2 separate regions of the Homo sapiens genome follow, and region 1 is linked to region 2. The links are contacts of gene promoters, found by promoter capture Hi-C in blood cells and fetal thymus (Javierre and others, 2016). All regions are on one chromosome and are shown on one strand. The core of a region is centred on a gene start or on the middle of the fragment in contact, and the rest is flanking DNA. Distances in the headings are between cores, read along the strand shown. Region 1 overlaps ADGRG2 (adhesion G protein-coupled receptor G2). Region 2 holds the start of SCML1 (Scm polycomb group protein like 1).

What was found. The method cuts DNA at HindIII sites, captures the fragments that hold promoters and counts their contacts. A CHiCAGO score of 5 or more calls a contact.
Region 1: a contact is called between a fragment that was not itself captured here and the fragment with the promoter of SCML1 in region 2, in 1 of 17 cell types (total B cells). The highest score is 5.4, in total B cells.

Annotation. Positions count from the first base shown.
Region 1 is chrX:18,988,989-18,994,284 of GRCh38, forward strand. It overlaps ADGRG2 (adhesion G protein-coupled receptor G2), which reads right to left. Exons shown (of 29, transcript NM_001079858.3): 29 at 319-2,060. The coding sequence ends at 1,876. The region is part of intron 2 of LOC101928415 (a long non-coding RNA gene); the gene reads left to right. Among named protein-coding and RNA genes, the nearest start is that of PHKA2, 7.5 kb to the left of the region's middle. The HindIII fragment of the contact is 3,047 bases long and covers 1,899-4,945 here.
Region 2 is chrX:17,735,984-17,741,456 of GRCh38, forward strand. It overlaps SCML1 (Scm polycomb group protein like 1), which reads left to right and starts at 1,510. Exons shown (of 8, transcript NM_001037540.3): 1 at 1,510-1,697. It overlaps NHS (NHS actin remodeling regulator), which reads left to right. Exons shown (of 9, transcript NM_001291867.2): 9 at 1-11. The HindIII fragment of the contact is 866 bases long and covers 1,040-1,905 here.

The DNA.
Region 1 (5,296 bases), core at 2,172-4,671, 1.3 Mb after region 2:
CCCCAAACTTCCAGGCTCAAGCAGTCCTCCATCCTCAGCCTCCTGAGTAGCTAGGAGTACAGGCACACAACACTATGACTAACTAATTTTTAATTTTTTGTAGAGACAGGGGTCTCCCTGTGCTGCCCGGGCTGGTCTCCAACTCCTGCACTCAAGCAATCCACCTGCGTCAGCCTCCCAAAGTGCTGGGATTACAGGTGTGAGCCACCATGCCCAGCCAATTGTGTTTGTCTTAATCAGCATGTCCTACACCACTTCCATGCCAGGCCACCAGGGAAAGAGACTGCAGATGTTTTTTCTTTGTGAAAATTACCAAACTTAAAGATCTTAACTGCAAATTTATTTCATTGATTTTAACATTTTTGATTTTAACATATAAATACAAGAAAATTAAATAAATCAGAAAAGAAATATTGCAAAGACAAGTCAGCACTCACAGAAATGTGTATTATTACTATGGTTAGTCTGAGATCCAACATTCACTTGAAATATATGCAAGAGAACCTTAGTGAAAGACTTAACTAAAAGGGGTTTGAAATGTTCCTAATAAGGATGTACTTGAGGCACTGCTCAAGCAGATGTAGGTAGGAAGCAAGATAGACCCTGTATATAACTAGGAGCAATCAAGGCTCGATACATGTAGCAACAATAGCAGTGTAGGACAGTTCCCTGTTCCCAATAGCTACTCCCCTTGTCACTGTGCATTCTTCAAGACACATTTAAAAAACAATTATAGCTCTGGCTGGGCCAGAGTGTACCAGTCATAACAATCAACAATGTACCATGCAGTTGCCTTTTAAAGAACGGCAATATGATTTTTTTCCATATATATGTACCTTTTTAAGAGAAGGAATCCTAGTCTACTCTCCTGTTCCTAAAGGCTCTGGGGATTTGAGAAGCGGCAGTGTATGTACCTCATCTACGTTCACAATTTTCCTGACACATGGTCTGGATGACAGTTCATCCCTCTCTGTGGCCAAGGTATAAAGCTAAACATCTTGGTGCAGATTCTATAATCTGACTACTGGGGATGCGGTCAGGGGATGGGTATTCATATTGGATGCTGTGTTTGGCTGTACAGGTCGTGCACCCAAGAGGGTGAGTGGGGCTAAAATATGGTCTCTCCACTCTGTTTGTCAAACCATGAGCCCATAGGGCTGTGTCTGCCCAGTGGGGGCATCTTTTCCTAACTTGCTCAAAGGCACTGTATGAGCTAACTGTGGCACTGTCTGCTTACATTTTCTCAGTCTGGCTGGGATCATTATTTCTTGATTTCACTGAGGTTTCTGTATTTCACATCCTATATCATCTCCAAAAGGAGCTTTAGGATTTGCGGAACGAGCAAGGATTTTCTGAATTATCACGTGAGACAAAACAACCATGATTCTACAAAGGAATACATTTACACAGTAGAAAATAAATACAAAAAAATGTAGAAGTAAGATTTTTGACACATGGGTCACTAGAATTTAGCTTATATACAACAAAGGCATGCACAACTAAACTCACCAACAGGCTGAAGTCAACAGTTGCTTTATATGATGTTATCAAAGATAACTTAGCCTCTTTAAAAGGTAGCTGAAAGTTCACTACCTTTTTTTGTTTTCTTTATAGGAGTCATTCTTAGTGTATTGTTTAAAACCAACCTTCTTATAAAATGAAAGATAAGAAACCAAATCAGAAATGTCTAAAAACCATGGTGTAATGTCTTGGTTTCTTCTTGTAATAATAATCATCGCCCTTAATTAGCTTATGCTTCTCCAGATGTTGCCGAGAATAAAATGAGTTGATTTTCATACATCTCACATTGTGTAAAAGGTAAAATTGGACATTTCACACTGTCAAGCATCATGCTTTGATTTTAGAAGAAAGGAATCACATTTGCTCAATAAAGTGTAAGCTTCCCCGCTTTGAAGTCCTTCTGAGAGCCATACGGCCTTTCCCATTGCAGGAATCTTCCTTCTCGTTAAACATGTGCTGTTTTCCAGTGAAATCGTGAAGGCACACATCTCCATTCTGAACACTAAAAGAGACCCCATTCCTCTCTGTAGAAGCATTTCCTGTATAAGGAAACACAAAGCGGGTGGCATGAAGTATCCACAGAAAGCATTAAAAAGCAAACAAACTTAGACATTGCTTTATTCTTAAAGATGTATTTGTAAAATATGTTTTTAAAAACATTTGTGATATATGTTCATATTTTATTTATTTTTCATTACTTCCCTAAGGCCACTCAAAGTAAGCATACCAAAGTGGAGATTGCTTCAGAAACCAGTTCTCTATGGCAGTTTTTTTTTTGTTTGGTTTTTAATGAAACAGTCAAAATCTGAAGCAAGGTAATATATTAATAAAAGGCCCACTTCCTAACTCTGGTTGGATATGTTTTGACTTCAAGTAGCAGCATATGTATAATATAAGCTAAGGTAATACTTTGGTCTCCCAAAAGGTTAATGTTAACAGAGATCCCCATATGTACCCTTAGGAAGTTCTTGGTTCCCTAGGTTCCTATAAAATGAAACTTTGTACCAGAGAAACCAGAGCAACCAGCTACAACAGTCATGGCAAGAAGAAATCATCTCTCTTGTAGATTAAACCAGCTCCTCTGACTAAATCAGGACAGGACAAATTCCCAAGAGGAAACTACCAATTCCAACTTCAGAGTCCAGGCCAGGGAGCAGCTGGGCACTCAAGGGTAACTGTTGGTTTGGACGTGGGCCTTCCCCACCCCAAGCAGGCCCTGAGTTATAGGGGAGCACAGGTGCTGGCCTCCTCTAGTTACTTGGCACCATCCTTCTGATCATTAGACCATTGGGAGACTATACACAAAGCTGAATAATAAGCCCATTTGATAGTTCATGACATGATTATGATAACAATGATCATAACAGTACTGGGACACTTTATTATCTCATTTAGAGCCCTGCAGGGTGGGTACTACTGTTATCCCCATTTTGCAGATGAGGAAACGAAGGTTTCAGAAATTAAGTGCTCTCCCCAAGGTCACACAGCTCAGAAGTAATGGAGTTGACGTGTGATGTTGCTTCCAAACTGTGATCCTTGTGGTCCTGGGTACCAAATGAGATGGCTGCTGGTACCCCACCCTCTAAGGCAGCTCAGAACTGAACTGTGTAATATTCATGCAAACTAGGTGATGAATATGGTTAACGTAGCTCCATCTGTGACACAGATCAAATAGGGCATGTGACTGTCTGAGGCAGCTGTTTGGATTTAGGCATTTCGGCTTGAGGACATTTTGGTGCAAGAACAATTTGGTCTGGCATAATAAATCATTAAACTTCTAGCTTTTTTTGTTGTTGTTGAGACGGAGTCTCGTTCTGTCGCCCATGCTGGAGTGCAGTGGTGAGATCTAGGCTCACTGCAACTTCTGTCTCCTGGGTTCAAGCGATTCTCCTGCCTCAGCTTCCTGAGTAGCTGGGACTACAGGTGTGTGCCACCACGTCTGGTTGATTTTCACATTTTTTATTAGAGATGGAGTTTTTCCATGTTGGCCAGGCTGGTCTTGAACTCCTGACCTCAGGTGATCCTCCTAACTTAGCCTCCCAAAGTGCTGGGATTACAGGTGTGAGCCACTGCGCCCAGCCCTAGCTTTCTTTTTTGAAATTGCCAATTCCATTCCTCATCTATCCCAGATGCTGGGGCAAGGACTGAGGAGTCAGGAATGGTTATCTGACATGCATATTATGTGATATTAAACACTGAGCCATTTTGGCAGCCTTAAAATGTACCCCCATCCTCACCGTCAAGCATCAAAAGTAGCTGTGTCAAATCAGCTGTGTTAAACAACTGTGGTAAAATGTGCTGTTTCCATGAAATCTGATTTCCCAAAGGATGACAACATGTTGATAGAGCTAGGCAGGTGAGGCTTCATCTCTGAGCTCTTTCGAGAATATGGACAAATCTGGTTTATGGATTCAGAGCCCCAGATGACCCTGCTCGCTCCTTTGATGTCTCTCCTTTCAATTTGCTTTCTCACACTAACGTACTAACCAGCTGTGCTCCCCGCTGCCTCGCCTCTGTTTACCTACATTGAATCATTCCTGATAGAGCTATTTGGTGTAGAGCCCAGAGCTTGCTTTCTGGTATCGACAGTAAAGAGCTAAGGCTATACAACAGTTATTTCTCATCTTTTACAGCAGTGATTCTCAACTGGGGGCAATCTTGCTCCCTTCTTCTCCCCGCTCCCCTGGGACAGTTGGCAGTGTCTGGGGACATTTTGGGTTGTCATAACTGGGGGCAGGGTGCTACTGGCTCTAGTTGATAGAGTCCAGGGATCCTGCTAAATGTCCTGCAATTCCACAAAAAAGAATTATCCAGCCCCAAAATGTCAATTGTGCTTGAAGTTGAGAAACCTTGATTTTGAGGCATCCTATGGTATTTTAAAAGCCTAGACAGGCCGGGCACAGTGGCTCACACCTGTAATCCCAGCACTTTGGGAGGCTGAGGCGGGAGGATCACTTGAGCCCAGGAGTTTGAGACCAACCTGGACAACACAGCAAGACTGCATCTTAAAAAAAAAAAAAAATTAGCCAGCCATGGTGGCATGCTCCTACAGTCCCAGCTACTCGGGTGGCTGAGGTGGGAGGATCACTTGAGCCTGGGAGGTCGAGGCTGCAGTGAACCGTGATCATACCACTGAACTCCAGCCTGGGCAATAGGAGACCTTGTCATAAAAAAAAAGAAAAAAAAAAAAAAAAGTCTAGACACACCAGCAGGACTGCCCATCTTCAGGAAACGGGAAAACTGGTAGATGTATGAACCTTCTCACAAATTTATTTGAGTTAGTCATGAAAAGAACTAACATCCTAAAACAATGAATACAGGCAAATTCTCCATGGAAGGAGAAACTATACCAGCAGAGCTTATGTTTTTATAAGAATGCAAAAGATATATTAAGAAGCAAGAGAAGGTAAAAATAGATAAGGTAAGCTTTTATGAGTAATGAACAGCCTGGTCTTATGAAAGAAAGAAAATGTAACAGAAGTTTTAGCTAGAAATGTCAGAATTAATGAGTAAAGGAGGCATGGCAGCAATAATCTGTTCAGATATTGGTCACATATATGGTCACCAATACTGGTCACAAGTCATCTTCCAGTATTTTGACATATTCATGGGGATTTGGGTGCTGTCACAAGACAGCCACATTGTGGGAAAGAATTAACAAACATGAAAAGCAAAAAATAGGAAGGTTTAAAAGTGTTGGCTGGGCGCGGTGGCTCACACCTGTAATCCCAGCACTTTGGGAGGCCGAGGTGGGCAAATCACTTGTGGTCAGGAG
Region 2 (5,473 bases), core at 260-2,759:
CTGCAATTAAACAACCGGTTTCTCTCTTCACTGTTACGTAATTGATTTCTTGGGGCTTCGCAACAGTGTTTTACAGGCAACAGGACATAAGGGCAGGGTCTGTTATGGCAAAAGTAGGAGCAAAAAGAACATAGACCAGCCTGTCCAACATGGTGAAACCCGTCTCTACTAAAAATACAAAAATTAGCTGGGCATGGTGGCAGACGCCTGTAATCCCAGCTACTCTGGAGGCTGAGGCAGGAGAATCGCTTGAACCCAGGAGGCAGAGGTTGCAGTGAGCCGAGATCACACCGCTACACTCCAGCCTGGGCAACAAGAGCAAAACTCCGTCTCAAACAAAAACAAAAACAAAAAAAAAACATATACTATATCTATAATGGGCTTTAATCTAGCTTCGTATTTGAGAGGAAAAATGATACATTTCCAACGTCCAGTATACTTTCTTTGTAGCTCCTCTCTGGGCCAAGAAAAGATGTATAGCTTTACTTTGAAATATCTGCCTGCTTTGCTTCTGATAATTACTCAGACTGTGTCTCCTTCCCAAGATGAGCAGCCTCGATATAAGTATGTAAGACTATATGCCACTAGATGATGTCACATAGCCTTTATTACAATAGCAAAATTCTATGCCAGGTACTGTTCTAAGTGCTTTGCATACATTAACTCATGTAGTCCCCATATTATACCCATTTTACAGATGGGGAAACCGAAGCACAAAGCGGTTACTTGGCTTGCCTAAGGCCATAGGAGGACTGTGTTGGAGCTGGGGGTCCAATCCAGTAAATCTGCCTTCAAGGTCTGCGTTAGTTCCCCAGTCCAACTTGTGGGTGCTGGAGACTGGAAATATCTTGCCCGCCCCCCACCCTGGCCCCCCTCGCCCTTCCTACCAGACCTGGCTCAGGGCAACTGCTAAGGCCCCGCCCCTCTCCTCATTCCAAGTCAATCACTGGCGTGCGTCCAGGAAACCCAGTTTACGACGACGTCTCTGGTGCGTCACAGAGCGCGGGGGAGGGGCGGGATCACATTAAAAAAAAAAAAAAGCTTCGGACACCCCAACAACGAAGGGGGGACACCACGTCCCTAACTACAACGCCACTAGAAGGGTTGCGCATGCGCGCCAGCCTCCTGCGCAGCCGCAGAAACCACTCAGCGCGCGAGTCTCTGAAAGGCCTAACGTCCATTTTCAATCCTGCGGGTCTTGCGAAGGAAAACCTGAGGTAAGAGGCCCCGCCCCACAGCCATCTCCTCAGCAAATTCCCGCCCTCGGCCCCGCCCCACAGCTATCTCCTCAGCAAATTCCCGCCCTCGGCCCCGCCCCACAGCCATCTCCTTAGCAAATTCCCGCCCTCACCCAAGGACTGGGAGAGCACCCGCGGATTGGCCGATCAACGGTGACGCCTGTCAGTGGCCAGACTCCGATTGGTCAGCGGGTAGTCCCGCCCCCCCCCCCCCCCCCCCCCCCCCCAACCGCGAGTGTGGGAATTCGGCGTCGCGGGAGCTCTCTGATCCACTCAGGGGTCAGGGCATCACTGGTCTCGCGTGCGCGTGACCAGGCCCGGTTTCCGGTGCCAGGACCTTTCCGAAGCGTCGAGTGGCCTAACGGTCACAGCTGTCGCCCATCGGAGAGGCAGGACTACTGCGAGCAGTTTTACCGCGACCTCCGGAGGCCGGCGTGACAGGCTCTGTCACTAAAATAGGTCTGTCCAGTCGTACTTTTTCCTCACCTTGAACTTTCCGTCACGGGAATACACGATTTGGCTTAGGGGCCGGGGCTCTCCTGAGGAGAGAGGGTTTGCTTTGCGGGGAAGAGCGAGTCTTGACTTCGCAGCCTCCAATTTCAGCCGCGGTGTGGAGGGGGGTGCTTTGGGTGGTCCCCACAGCCTTTCCGGAGTGCCCGCGCGTGTAAGCTTTTGAGATTTGACAATTTGTGAAGTGCTTGGTGCTGACTTTCGGGGACGACAGGATCCTTTTACAGTCATTCTCCTGTCAGGGGAGGCAGGTGGGGAGCGAGGAAGGATCCAGATTTCGTTAACAGAGCTTTGAGTTTAAAGAATTGACAAACTCCCGAGTTGATTTCCTGTCAGACCTTTTGCGGTTGAGACATAGAGTCTGAGGCTTTGATGGTAACCGCGTTTGATTTAGAGACAGACTGTGCAGCTTCGCTGTTTTATTGTAAATACGTAAATGAGGAGGAAGAGAAAAACGTAGGGTGTTGGGAGCAGAGGCGGGAGGCGGGAGATCCTGCGAAATCGGAGTCCCTTTGGAGTGGGGGAGGCCGTCGAGGCGTGCGAGGGCCCGGCCCCCTTGCCGCGTGGTCGTTAACAGGAAAGGCCCTGATTTGGTTGGTGGCGGATCGCGTCCCTCCCTCCTCTCCCCGGCTCTCCCCGAGTGCGGCAAACTGGCTTCAGGTTGACTAAAAGATAGCGATTTTCCAAGCAGCTTTGCCGCGCGGTGTTTTCTAAAGCGGGGCGTGGGCTGGGTGCCCTTTTGGGCCTCACTTGTCCGGCCTGCGGCAAGTGCTGGGCGATGGGATGCGGTTCTGGCGGCAAAGGAAGGGCTGCCTTTGAGAGTCCCGCAGGAAGGTTTAGAAAGTGATTGTTCTTAAAACAAACAGAGCGTTTTGCTGTGTGTTCCTCAAAGTGGTCCCGGTGGGAGTGGCGCCTCATTGTGAGCTGTGCCTTATCTGATGAATTAATGGCAGGTGAAAGCCTTGCGCCTCCGGAGCGAATATTTACGACTTTTGAAAATGTCTTTAATGTCTAAAAAAAGTCTTTTAGAAAATCAGACGGCCTCTTGTTCTTATGTTATCAAGAGTTTAGATTTCTGTGGTAAATATAAGTGAGTTTCATTTTAAGTAAACTCATTTTACGAGATTTGAGATTTGAAAGTGAAATTAATTAATTTTGCACAATCTAGCCTTGGGCTCTGAGAAAATGTTGTAAAGCTGTAATTAATCTTGTGGGACGAAGTGAAAAGGAACTAAAGTGTATGGTGTAATGAATAGTTTAAATTTCTGTGGTAAATACAAGTGAGTTTCATTTTAAGTAAACTCATTTTTATGGGATTTGAGATTTAAAAGTGAAATTAATTAATTTCGCACAATCTAGTCATGGTTGGGCTCAGAAAATGTTGTAAAGTTGTGATTTATCTTATGGAAAGAAGTGAAAAGGAATTAAGGTATATGGTGTAATTAAGAGTTTAAATTTCTGTGGTAAATGCAAGTGAGTTTCATTTTAAGTAAACTCATTTTTACGGGATTTGAGATTTAAAAGTGAAATTAATTCATTTTGCACAGTGTAGTCATGGTTGGGCTCTGAGAAAATGTTGTAAAGCTGAAATTATTTATCTTGTGGGAAGAAGTGAGAAGAAACTAAAATGTGTGGTATTATCAAGAGTTTAGATTTCCGGGGTAAATATAAATGAGTTTCCTTTAAACTCATTTTTGTGGAATTTGAGGTTTAAAAGTGAAATTAATTTTGTAGAATCTAGTCATGGTTGGGCTCTGAGAAAATGTTGTAAAGCTGTAATTTATCTTGTGGGAAAAAGTGAAAAGGAACTTAAATTTATGGTGTTATCAAGAATTGGCCAGGCGCGGTGGCTCACACCTGTAATCCCAGCACTTTGGGAGGCCGAGGTGGGCAGATCACTTGAGGTCAGAAGTTCGGGACCAGCCTGGCCAACATGGTGAAACCCAGTCTTTACTAAAAGTACAAAAATTAACTGGGCATGGTGGTGCAAGCCTGTTACGCTAACTACTCGGGAGGCTGAGGGAGGAGAATTGCTTTAACCCGGGAGGCAGAGGTTGCAGTAAGCCGAGATCATGCCACTGCACTCCAGCCTGGGTGACAGAGTAAGACTCTGTCTCAAAAAAAAAAAAAAAAAAAAAAGAAATTTAGATTTCTGTGGTAAATATAAATGAGTTTCATTTTAAGTAAACTCATTTTGTGGGATTTGAGATTTAAAAATGAAATTAATTTTGCACATTCTAGTCATGGTTGGGCTCTAAGGCAATGTTGTAAAGCTGTAATTGTTTGCCTTATGGGAAGAAGTGAAAAGGAATTAAAATTTATGGTGTGTCTACTATGAACCAGGCATGATGCTGAGAGTTTAACTGTGTAATTTTTGGCCTAAATAGCCCTGTGAAGTAGATATTATTCCAACTTTACAGGTTAGAAAATTTGAGGCACAGAGAGGTGAAATATTTGCCTAAAGTGAAACGGCAAATTTGGCAATTTGGACTTGGATTCAAGTGTTTATAACTAAAGCCCAGCTCCTTGCATCATACCCTGGTACCTAAAAGACATAAAAACTCACTTCAGGTGCAATGTGAATGAAAATGACGTTATGACCCAGGCTTGTTGTCTATGTGCTCCTTGAGAAATAGTTCTGTTGGATAGATGCGGTCAATACTCAAAAGCCCTTGCTATCTTTGCCATGCATTACTCTAAGCACTTGACATGTATTAATTTAATCCTCACGATTCCGTGAGGTATGTGCTATTATCATTCCCATTTTACAGACAAAAAAAAAAAAGGATTTAAGTAAGTTGTTCAACTTACTTACACAGCTAGTATGTGGGGGAGGTGGGACCCAAACCCAGGTATTCTGACCACAAGCCTAAGGTCTTAATGCTGTTTGATGCTGCCTCTCATGTAACCAGATATGTGTGACAGTTGCCGTAGAAGTATTAAAGTGTGAGTGTTATTGTAGTTCAGGGAAAGCCGTGTCACATCCACATGGGATGATCATTGGCATGGTGCCCTTGCTTTTTGGAGGTGAAACTTGAAGTAAGCCTTGAAGTTGAATAGATTCTCCTAGGCGGAGACACAACAGGGTATTATGGACGGAGGGCATAACAGGAGCGAGAAGCTCAAAGAGTGAAAGATTGGTGTTGATTTGTATATGTACCAGAGATGTAAACATGTTGGGAGTCCAGTGGTGGACTCACTGCACAGTGCTCCTGTGTCTAACTACAGCCAAATTTTGACAACATTGTTATTAATCCAAATAGGGAGTTCTCTGTTCTCTGGATGTAAGAGCTTGTAACCATTGTCTGCAAACTTGCCTGAAACAGGCTACACAGTAAATATTTTAGGCTTAGAACTGCTGTCCCCAGTCTTTTTGGCACCAGGAACCGGTTTTGGTTTTGTGGAAGACAATTTTTCCACAGATGCAGGGACGGGGGAGTGCTAGCGGGGTATAGTTTCCTAATGAAACTGTTTCATAAGGAGAGTGCAACCTAGATCCCTCGCATGTGCAGTTCACAATAGGGTTTGTGCTCCTGTGCGAATCTAATACTGCAGCTCATCTGACAGGAGGCGGAGCTCAGGCGATAATCCTTGCTAGCTCCTGCTGTGCTCCTAACAGGCCAAGGACCAGTACCAGGCGGTTGCCCAGGGGTTGGGGACCCCTGGCTTAGAGTAAAGGGGCAAGTGGTAAGAAGTGACCTCTGCGCAGTGGGCGGGGTCCTGAT